Regions from separate parts of the Homo sapiens genome. Here region 1 is linked to region 2. Evidence: promoter capture Hi-C in 16 types of primary human blood cells and fetal thymus (Javierre and others, 2016). All regions are on one chromosome and are shown on one strand. The core of a region is centred on a gene start or on the middle of the fragment in contact, and the rest is flanking DNA. Distances in the headings are between cores, read along the strand shown.

Evidence for each region. Contacts are between HindIII fragments. The CHiCAGO score rates a contact against its expected background, and 5 or more counts as called.
Region 1: a fragment that was not itself captured here is called in contact with the fragment with the promoter of COL28A1 in region 2 in 1 of 17 cell types (fetal thymus); the score reaches 5.2 in fetal thymus.

The regions. Positions count from the first base shown.
Region 1 is chr7:8,295,542-8,300,881 of GRCh38, forward strand. All of the region lies in intron 3 of ICA1-AS1 (ICA1 antisense RNA 1), which reads left to right. Among named protein-coding and RNA genes, the nearest start is that of ICA1-AS1, 36 kb to the left of the region's middle. The HindIII fragment of the contact is 4,184 bases long and covers 758-4,941 here.
Region 2 is chr7:7,532,949-7,538,431 of GRCh38, forward strand. COL28A1 (collagen type XXVIII alpha 1 chain) reads right to left here and starts at 2,925. Exons shown (of 35, transcript NM_001037763.3): 1 at 2,802-2,925. The HindIII fragment of the contact is 1,663 bases long and covers 2,697-4,359 here.

The sequences.
Region 1 (5,340 bases), core at 1,600-4,099, 760 kb after region 2:
GAGTCTTTCTGGAGAGAAAATAGATTTGTGTAAATGGAAGACTACTTAATAGTCTACGGAGAGAAACCAAAAGATTAGCAACAAAGGATATTAACATTTATTATTCATGCTTATTAAAAAAAGAGAAACTAAGGAATAATCTTGGGTATACCCATTCAATGAAAAAGTCACTTGTAAATTTCAGAAACGTGAACTGCCTTCTAGGGACTACTGTTTAAATGTCACCTACCTAAAAGGAATACATTTTAATTGGACTTTGATTGGCAAGCTCGTCACTACTTCCTTTGCCTTTATGAAAAGATCTGTTCCAACTGGCAACACCCAAGAGTGCAGCATTTTAAACAGGGAAAAGGTGAGCAAACACAATTACCCGCATCTAAGTCCTGTGATACAGGCAACTGTTTTAATATAATTCGTCTTCCTAGTTGTCATTTACTAACCTAAAGAGCATTATTGGGCTGATTTAGTTAAAAAACACCACCACCACCACCAAAAAACAAAAAACAAAAACATGGATGGAAAAGGGAAAGCAATAGAAAGGGAGTCTGAAGATTCTAGATTGAGTCCTGATGTCTCTGCAAATAGCTATGAAGTAACTAGAGCTTCAATTTCATCAACTGTCTAGGTAGGATGCCCTCCAAGGTCTCTAAGATTACAAATAGTGTGAATTAGCCGACAGCGAGCTAGAGCATATTTGCTTAAGCCAATAGTGACATCTGGTGGCTGCATATACCAATGACAGATTTAGCTACCTTCAAGCTTTCCCAAAGGCTTGGTAAGTCTTGTTTTTAAAATGGCTGCCTTTTCCATTTGAAAATATACCAGTGGCCAGTTGGAAACCTAACTGTTCAGATTTGGTTTCTCTACTTTATTATTTATATCATGAGTTTTTAGATTTTTATTTTTTATTAAGTAGGTGAATGAGCAACATGTTTTTCAGAGAATGACACTTTGATAACTCTTTTCTTGTAAATGCAGTATTATAAACAGAGCTCCAAATTCCTTTGGCTCTGTCGCTACTTCTCTGAAGCAGATGTACTTCCATGCAATTGATTGGATTAGTGGAGGTGTAAATTTAAAAATAAATAAATTAATTTGTTTATCCTCTCATTTAACTCCTACTCTTGCGTCAACCTCTGTGCTAGACAGGACAGATCCAGAAATAAAAGCACACCCCTGAACTACTGAGTTCTCTGGCTTCGAACCCAGGGAACTGACAACACATCAGCTGGGATTTGAGCTCCCTTTTTGTAAATATAGACAGAGGCAGGGTAAATCTCAATCTTCATTTTGTTTGTCATAATTTCTTGGTTTCCCTTTGATGGTGGTGAGGTCCTTACCCCTGCTTTCTGAATCCTAGTTCTCTTGTCTCCCACAACTCTAATTTTTTATACATAAATGAATACATAAGCAAGTGTACTTTTATGAAATGCATACTATTTCCCTCTCACATTTAAATTCTCAATTTGTGATGTGTAGAATCTTAATATTTCCTTTAGTGCAGAGTGACCGGCACCTCCAGTTTAATCCTTCTCCAAAATGGTTAACTCAGAATTCTCACCATTCCCAGTCTCGGTCTCCACCATGGTGCTTTAATTCTCTTTTTTTCAATACTATTTAAAAGTATCATCATTGGCCGGGTGTGGTGGCTCACGCCTGCAATCCCAGCACTTTGGGAGGCCGAGGCAGGCAGCCACCTGAGGTCAGGAGTTTGAGACCAGCCTGGCCAACATGGTGAAACCCCATCTCTGTTAAAAGTAAATAAATAAATAAATAAAAATACAAAAATTAGCCGGGCGTGGTGGCACACACCTGTAATCTCAGCTACTTAGCAGGCTGAGCCAAGAGAATTGCTTGAACCTGGGAGGCAGAGGTTGCAATGAGTAGAGATTGTGCCACTCACTCCAGACTGGGCGAAAGAGTGAGACTCCGTCTCAAAAAAAAAAAAAAATTATCATCATTATTATCTTGTCTGTTCCTGGTTCTTTCCTTACTATGTAAGAGAAGCAACCCAAGTCGCAGTGCATTTAAATGCTTTTCCTAAGGCTCTAGTAAGGGCAGTTAGAAATGGAAGCCGGAACTTTAGATGGTCTGGAGCGTGGTCTGGAGTCTTTACAACACACCCAAACTATCCGCACACATGGAAGGGTGAGAACCTCCCTATCCAATTCCTTTGCATCAGCTCCTCCTTCCTTTATTGTCTATGGCTTCTGGGACGATTGTGAATAAGAGAGTGATCCAACAACAGAATGTGGAGACAACCTCTCTCCCCTCTGTAGCTGTGTCCACTTTGGCTTTTGATACAGGGAGTAGAGTCACAGACAGGCATGTATTCACTTTAGTTTCCCTAGGAACGCAGACAGGTGGTTCAGACAGAAATCAGAATTATTTATACATGACTGTAGGAAAATATTTATTCAGGGAACTCTGACCATTTTATGCTTGAATCATTTATATTCTCTACTATTTAGAGCTGCAGTTGGCCTTGCTATCATTTATTTATTTGTACATTGAGTCAGTGAAGATAAATTTTCTTAATTTTTTTTTCCTTTTTTTTTATTTTATTTATTTATTTATTTTTATTATTATACTTTAAGTTTTAGGGTACATGTGCACATTGTGCAGGTTAGTTACATATGTATACATGTGCCATGCTGGTGCGCTGCACCCACTAACTCGTCATCTAGCATTAGGTATATCTCCCAATGCTATCCCTCCCCCCTCCCCCAACCCCACAACAGTCCCCAGAGTGTGATGTTCCCCTTCCTGTGTCCATGTGATCTCATTGTTCAATTCCCACCTATGAGTGAGAATATGCGGTGTTTGGTTTTTTGTTCTTGCGATAGTTTACTGAGAATGATGGTTTCCAATTTCATCCATGTCCCTACAAAGGACATGAACTCATCATTTTTTATGGCTGCATAGTATTCCATGGTATATATGTGCCACATTTTCTTAATCCAGTCTATCATTGTTGGACATTTGGGTTGGTTCCAAGTCTTTGCTATTGTGAATAATGCCGCAGTAAACATACATGTGCATGTGTCTTTATAGCAGCATGATTTATAGTCCTTTGGGTATATACCCAGTAATGGGATGGCTGGGTCAAAAGGTATTTCTAGTTCTAGATCCATGAGGAATCGCCACACTGACTTCCACAATGGTTGAACTAGTTTACAGTCCCACCAACAGTGTAAAAGTTGTTCATATTTCTCCACATCCTCTCCAGCACCTGTTGTTTCCTGACTTTTTAATGATTGCCATTCTAACTGGTATGAGATGGTATCTCATTGTGGTTTTGATTTGCATTTTTCTGATGGCCAGTGATGGTGAGCATTTTTTCATGTGTTTTTTGGCTGCATAAATGTCTTCTTTTGAGAAGTGTCTGTTCATGTCCTTTGCCCACTTTTTGATGGGGTTGTTTGTTTTTTTCTTGTAAATTTGGGTTCACTGTAGATTCTGGATATTAGCCCTTTGTCAGATGAGTAGGTTGCGAAAATTTTCTCCCATTTTGTAGGTTGCCTGTTCACTCTGATGGTAGTTTCTTTTGCTGTGCAGAAGCTCTTTAGTTTAATTAGATCCCATTTGTCAATTTTGGCTTTGGTTGCCATTGCTTTTGGTGTTTTAGACATGAAGTCCTTGCCCATGCCTATGTCCTGAATGGTAATGCCTAGGTTTTCTTCTAGGGTTTTTATGGTTTTAGGTCTAACATTTAAGTCTTTAATCCATCTTGAATTGATTTTTGTATAAGGTGTAAGGAAGGGATCCAGTTTCAGCTTTCTACATATGGCTAGCCAGTTTTCCCAGCACCATTTATTAAATAGGGAATCCTTTCCCCATTGCTTGTTTTTCTCAGGTTTGTCAAAGATCAGATAGTTGTAGATATGCGGCGTTACTTCTGAGGGCTCTGTTCTGTTCCATTGATCTATATCTCTGTTTTGGTACCAGTACCATGCTGTTTTGGTTACTGTAGCCTTGTAGTATAGTTTGAAGTCGGGTAGTGTGATGCCTCCAGCTTTGTTCTTTTGGCTTAGGATTGACTTGGTGATGCGGGCTCTTTTTTGGTTCCATATAAACTTTAAAGTAGTTTTTTCCAATTCTGTGAAGAAAGGCATAGGTAGCTTGATGGGGATGGCATTGAATCTGTAAATTACCTTGGGCAGTATGGCCATTTTCACGATATTGATTCTTCCTACCCATGAGCATGGAATGTTCTTCCATTTGTTTGTATCCTCTTTTATTTCCTTGAGCAGCGGTTTGTAGTTCTCCTTGAAGAGGTCCTTCACATCCCTTGTAAGTTGGATTCGTAGGTATTTTTTTCTCTTTGAAGCAATTGTGAATGGGAGTTCACTCATGATTTGGCTCTCTGTTTGTCTGTTGTTGGTGTGTAGGAATGCTTGTGATTTTTGCACATTGATTTTGTATCCTGAGACTTTGCTGAAGTTGCTTATCAGCTTAAGGAGATTTTGGGCTGAGACAGTGGGGTTTTCTAGATATACAATCATGTCATCTGCAAACAGGGACAATTTGACTTCCTCTTTTCCTAATTGAATACCCTTTATTTCCTTCTCCTGCCTAATTGCCCTGGCCAGAACTTCCAACACTATGTTGAATAGGAGTGGTGCGAGAGGGCATCCCTGTCTTGTGCCAGTTTTCAAAGGGAATGCTTCCAGTTTTTGCCCATTCAGTATGATATTGGCTGTGGGTTTGTCATAGATAGCTCTTATTATTTTGAAATATGTCCCATCAATACCTAATTTATTGAGAGTTTTTAGCATGAAAGGTTGTTGAATTTTGTCAAAGGCCTTCTCTGCCTCTATTGAGATAATCATGTAGTTTTTGTCTTTGGCTCTGTTTATATGCTGGATTACATTTATTGATTTGCGTATATTGAACCAGCCTTGCATCCCAGGGATGAAGCCCACTTGATCATGGTGGATAAGCTTTTTGATGTGCTGCTGGATTCGGTTTGCCAGTAATTTATTGAGGATTTTTGCATCAATGTTCATCAAGGATATTGGTCTAAAATTCTCTTTTTTGGTTGTGTCTCTGCCCGGCTTTGGTATCAGAATGATGCTGGCCTCATAAAATGAGTTAGGGAGGATTCCCTCTTTTTCTATTGATTGGAATAGTTTCAGAAGGAATGGTACCAGTTCCTCCTTGTACCTCTGGTAGAATTTGGCTGTGAATCCATCTGGTCCTGGACTCTTTTTGGTTGGTAAGCTATTGATTATTGCCACAATTTCAGATCCTGTTATTGGTCTATTCAGAGATTCAACTTCTTCCTGGTCTAGTCTTGGGAGAGTGTATGTGTCAAGGAATTTATCCATTTCTTCTAGA
Region 2 (5,483 bases), core at 1,675-4,174:
AATATGGTGTTTGTTATTTTTAAATTTCAAGCCAGCAGGGTTGAAAACTGGCATGTGACTGGAAAAAAGAGGTTTTCATTCATATTTCTAGAAAAATATTCACATTGAGATTTTGAAAGATTTCAATCCAAATAAATCATGGCACCATGACCAAACATTTATTAGTGAATATTTCTATATATTCAAAGAACTATATTTAAGTATTCTTAATTCCGCATTGTATTTTGAGGAGCATAGAGTTGGGAGAGCCATTTAAAAACATTTCAATCCCGCTCTATATGATTACTGTGGTTCAATCACAGGGTCTGCTTTGACATTTCCAAATTCTTCAGGGGGAATTCAGATTGCTATATGGTCATTTCATTCACTTTCATTATAACTGATTCCTGACAAATCTAGTATTTTGTAGAACTGTAGACAACCACCACCCTTTCAGGCTTAATACTACACACATAACTTCAGTGAGTTCAGAGGTCAAGGTAAAAATTAAACGACCCTTCTGTTTCCATAGAACCCCATCTCTCTTTTCTACCCTAGCTTTGGAAACTTTGTCTCCACCAGGGGTTCAAAGCTGCATATGCAATGAATCAAAAGAGTATGAGAGCAAAAATAATAGATTTGCTTAAAAGCAACACTCTTCTTCCAGTGATGGCTAAAAGAACTAATGGACAGAAACGGGACTTAAAGCCAAGAAGCACCCCCTCTGAATAGCCCCGTGAAACTATTTTTCTGGGTGGATTAACAACGAAAAATCTAATTCTGTATTAAAATCCTCAATCTTCATCAGTCAATATGCCTAGCTACACACCAACTGACTCTTAAACTGACAGATTTCCCTGGGAGGAGAAGACTCATGTGTTGCTGCCTCAGTATACCCAAGAGAATGGGAACGAGAAAGCTTATTTCGAATCAATACTTAGTATGGCTTAAAAATGCTTGCCTGCTGAAACTTTATTGACTTCAGGAGTTCTGGAAAAGGAATCACATTTTCCTTCTTTGGCACCTTGCCTTTAGGGGATAAGAATCTGGGAAATCATGAGCACGATTTTTCCAGACTCTGAGTAGAGAGTGGAAATATATGCAAAGGCAGTGAGGAGTGAGATGGAGACTGACTTTTTTCATACATGCCAGATGGATAAACCCCAAAGGGAAACAAAACTGTTGGGTTAGGAGAGGACCAATGGATGGCTTCATGCCACAGTCTGCTCCTCACATAGCATCATCCAGCTGGAAGTGTATTAAAAGAACTTTGGATAGGTATGACCAAACATCTTGTGTAGCAATTGGCCAAATGCCAACTGATCCTCAGACAAGGTATACTAAAATGTAAAGACAGCTGGGTATTAAAAACAAAACAAAACCAAGAAATGTGCTAAGGAAACAGAACACACAAAGGCCATCTCTCCTCAAGTTGTCCCTTTGCTAACCAAGGAAAAAAATAAATGATGTACAACTTTAAGTCTGAAGGTTAGTGTAAAGATAAGGCTATGTGAAAAACACAGTTGTTATTGCATTTTCAAAGGGGAAAGGGAATAACACCATGGCCATGGTATTACATATGACTTTTCTCTTTGGTTGAGTTCATACCATAAGGAACATCTCAGAAGTTCTGGAAATAAGAGGCTGAGAACTGAATTCCATTGAGAACTGAGCAAGATTTTATAAGCAACATAATCAAGCAACTCTTCAAAACCCTTCATGTAAGGTTTTAGAAATACTGGCTTTAAATAAAGATTTATCTTTTCCCAAAACTAAGCACCTGCTCTTACTGTTTTCTTGGCATATAATCATGAATTTGTACCTGATCCCTGTATATATGATATTCACAAACATAACTTTTCCATTGACAATAATCCCAGTATCTCATATTTTGTTCTTATTTGCTCTGACATTGTTAATCTAGCTCTCCCAAACCAAAGTCTTGTTATTTCTTTCTGTTTCCCTATTGTAGCCAGAGGACATTTTCATACCTCTCTAGATTTGTTTCTCTAGCTTGTTAGTTCTACTGCTTCCCTGAAATATCTTTCTCGTTTATTAATTTGGCATCTTGAGAGCCCACTCATTTCTAATCACTTTTTACCATGTTTTATTTTGCCTCTGTTTTTAATAATTCTCACCTTTCTCTCTTTCTGATGTCACGTACAAGCAAAATAGGTTTCAGAGGAAACAGTGCCATTAGTTAAGTGAAAGAAATGTGAACCTCTGTGTTTACTATAGGTTACATTTTATAAATGCAGAAACAATCATAATTATTAATCAAATACCGTAGTTTTACTTTTGGCCTAAAATTTATTTGGGGTAAATATCAGGATCAGTAAATAAATCCAAGATACTTTATTTTTTATAATTTTTCAAAAATAAAATGATCTTATATCAGAGTTCACCAACTTTAGTTACAATGTTTGCATCTCAGTTTCTACACAAATAGAAAATGATTGAATAAAGACTTTATTCAAATTGACAAATTAGCCAAGTTGTAAAGTATTCTATAACTAATTCTGAATTGTAAACCCTGTTCCAAATTAAGAAAAAGATGTCCTAAAATATATTAACATCGTTGTAAAACAATTTAGAAGACTGTAAATTAAAAATCCATTTCAAAATAATTTTAAGTTTTAAATTTCTACATTTTAACAATGTTAATATTTTTCTAATAATTGATTTGAAGTAATTGCAGAGAATACAAACTATTGACAAGCTTTCTCACCTAATAATTATGTAAGTAAGTCATTTAGTCTTCCACAGTTCCTTGATGGTCCTATCTGATTTCAAGTGACTAAAATAAATCTGTTATGTCTTACCTTATAAAGTTTGTCAAACAGGAATTAAAGACTAGTTGAGTAAATGCCAACAGCAAGGACTGTGGTTGGGGGTGAAGTTAGCTATTTGATATTGTTCTGTTCTGTGGGAAATAAAAGTGTCTTTGCTTTAGGATCTTTTGCAGTCTTTTGTTCATGTTTATTCGACTAAGTCAAAGCAAGAGTGGTCAGGCATTTGGCCAGGGTGCAAGATCTGGGTGGGATCAGTAAGCAATTTAAAGGAACAGTGTCCTTTCAGAATGAGACTGTGTTTTCCAGACTATTGTAAAAACAACTTGAGAGAACTTTCTACATTTTAGGCATTGGTTGACAGCCTGCCTTTTTTTCTCATGCTATGTCCTTCTCTTTTTATTGCTACATTTCTTTGCCTGGGGGATGTGCTCTAAGATACTGGTTCTGAACATCTCTGTGAAGGAGTATAAATGACACCAGACTCAGAATCAAAGCTGTTTTTTTAAGAGAGGTAACAGTTTGATTGTTATTAAAGCTGGATGATGAGTACATAGGTGTGCATTGTTCTAGTCTTTGTATTTCTGTGATTTTTGAAATTTTTTATAATAAAAGGTATATATAATATACAGGGAAAGAGTGGTCTGAGTATAGTCATAGTTCTGCCCCTAACTTTTATGGGGGCTTCAGTTCCCCACTTATGAAATGAGAGAGTAGATTTAATCATTTATTAAGATGTGTTCGAACTGTAACATGAGAGGTTTACAGCGGTTAATATTTTGGTCTCTCTCTAGGAAAGGATCACTGTGGTTTTTCCACTCCCTGTTTCCCTATTTTCTACCTTGTGGTTATGGTCCATATTAAGTCAATGTTTATCATGTAATATATACTGCCAAGAAGCCACCTGACCCCTAGACAGCTAACAGGCAGGCTTCTCCACGGACTTCCTCTGAAATAGAGAATAGCAAGATCATCCGAGAAAGCAATACAAATGTGCATGTTACGGTTATTTAAAATGAACTTTCTTAGCCATTTTAATGTGTATGAATTTCCTTATTACAGCAATAATAGCCTCCAATTCATGGACACTTACCAGGTGCTAGGCACTGTCCTGAGTGCTTCACACACATTACCTCATTTAATCCTTCACAAGCACAACCACCTATATACAGTAAGTCCTCACTTAATGTCCTCTGTAGGTTCTGGAAACTGTGACATAAAGTGAAACAATTGATAATGAAGACAATTTTCCCAAGAGCTAATTGATATAAATAAGAGTTAAGCTCTTATGGCATATTCCTAGTCACAAAAACATCACTAAACCTCTAAATACTCAAAACACCTCTAATAATAAACATTGAAATAAATCTAAGCTATATATACATTTATGAAAGATTGATAAAAACAAGATAACTGCTTACCTGCATATTCCAGTTCAGGGTCACGGTTGACCAGATCCTGTCCCAGCAGCTGAGGATACAAGGCAGGAACCAGCCCTGGACAGGATGCAGTACTGTCAAAGGGCACTCATACACCCACCCACTCTCTCAGACAGGCACCATGTAGACACACCAATGCATCTAATGGGCAAAGCTTTGGGATGTGGGAGGAAACTCCAGGACCTGGAGAAAACCCACACAGACATGGGGAAAACATGTCAACTCCACACAGTGAGCCTGGCCCAGGAATTGAATTTTTTTTCTCATCAATGTTATAACAAAATGACATTGAACAAAATATTATTCCAGGACCCCTTGTACTTAGTAGATGTTGTAAGAATTCGAATTTTTCCAAGATGGAGGCAGAGAGAGGTTCAGTAACTTGTCCGCTGTCATACTAAAACCAGAGAATGGCAAAATGAACTTTTAACTCAGGCTGGTAAGACCTGTGAGCCTCACTTATAACAACTACTGCATCATTAAGTATCTATGCGAACGTCTGTGTTTTCACTGTCTCCTCCTCACAAAACAGGTTTCGAGGAACTGAGGAAGTTTTGTGAGGCTTTGGTAACAGAAAGAAGAAACGGTGGGTATAATGCAGAAATAACAACGGAATTTCCTAGGGAACAACCATGTATTTACCTGATAGCCTATGGGTGTTAGTCACACTTTTTACTTTTGTAAGATGAGAATCAAGAGACAAGGAAGTAGCATCTTTTCAGGTCAACTCTCTTTTTGCTGAGGCAGGTTAAAAACATGCAGAATAATAATGCCACTAAGAAGCAAACAGGTGATTCCTAGATGGGGGAAATGGACTAAAGCCCTCCTGCCTTGGAGCTGTTTTGATTAAAGTTGGTGGGAGGTTGGAGTCCAACTTAGTCATCCATTCCCTTTCATTCTCCAACATTAAATAGGGTAACTCAAACCAAAGATTTGCCACCTCTCATTCTCAAGCGTGAAAATCAGCACTAAATTAATTGGGAAGATTATGCAAAATAAAATCTTCAGTTTCATCAATCTATAAAAGACAATTAGTTTTGCACCCAGAGAAACAATGCACCACAATCTTAATCCCAACAGATGGTCTTGAATTAGTATGCTATTGGACTTACACCAGAACAAATAAGAGAGCATGGATAACCATAATGACTAGAAAAAGGCAACGTGGAGCCCATGCCCTTCTGACAGTTATTTTGTAGTAAAAGTCTTTATGGAAGAAATATAGCACACTATTTTCATTGTTACTACTATAAATAGCCCAGAGTAAGCAGTCATA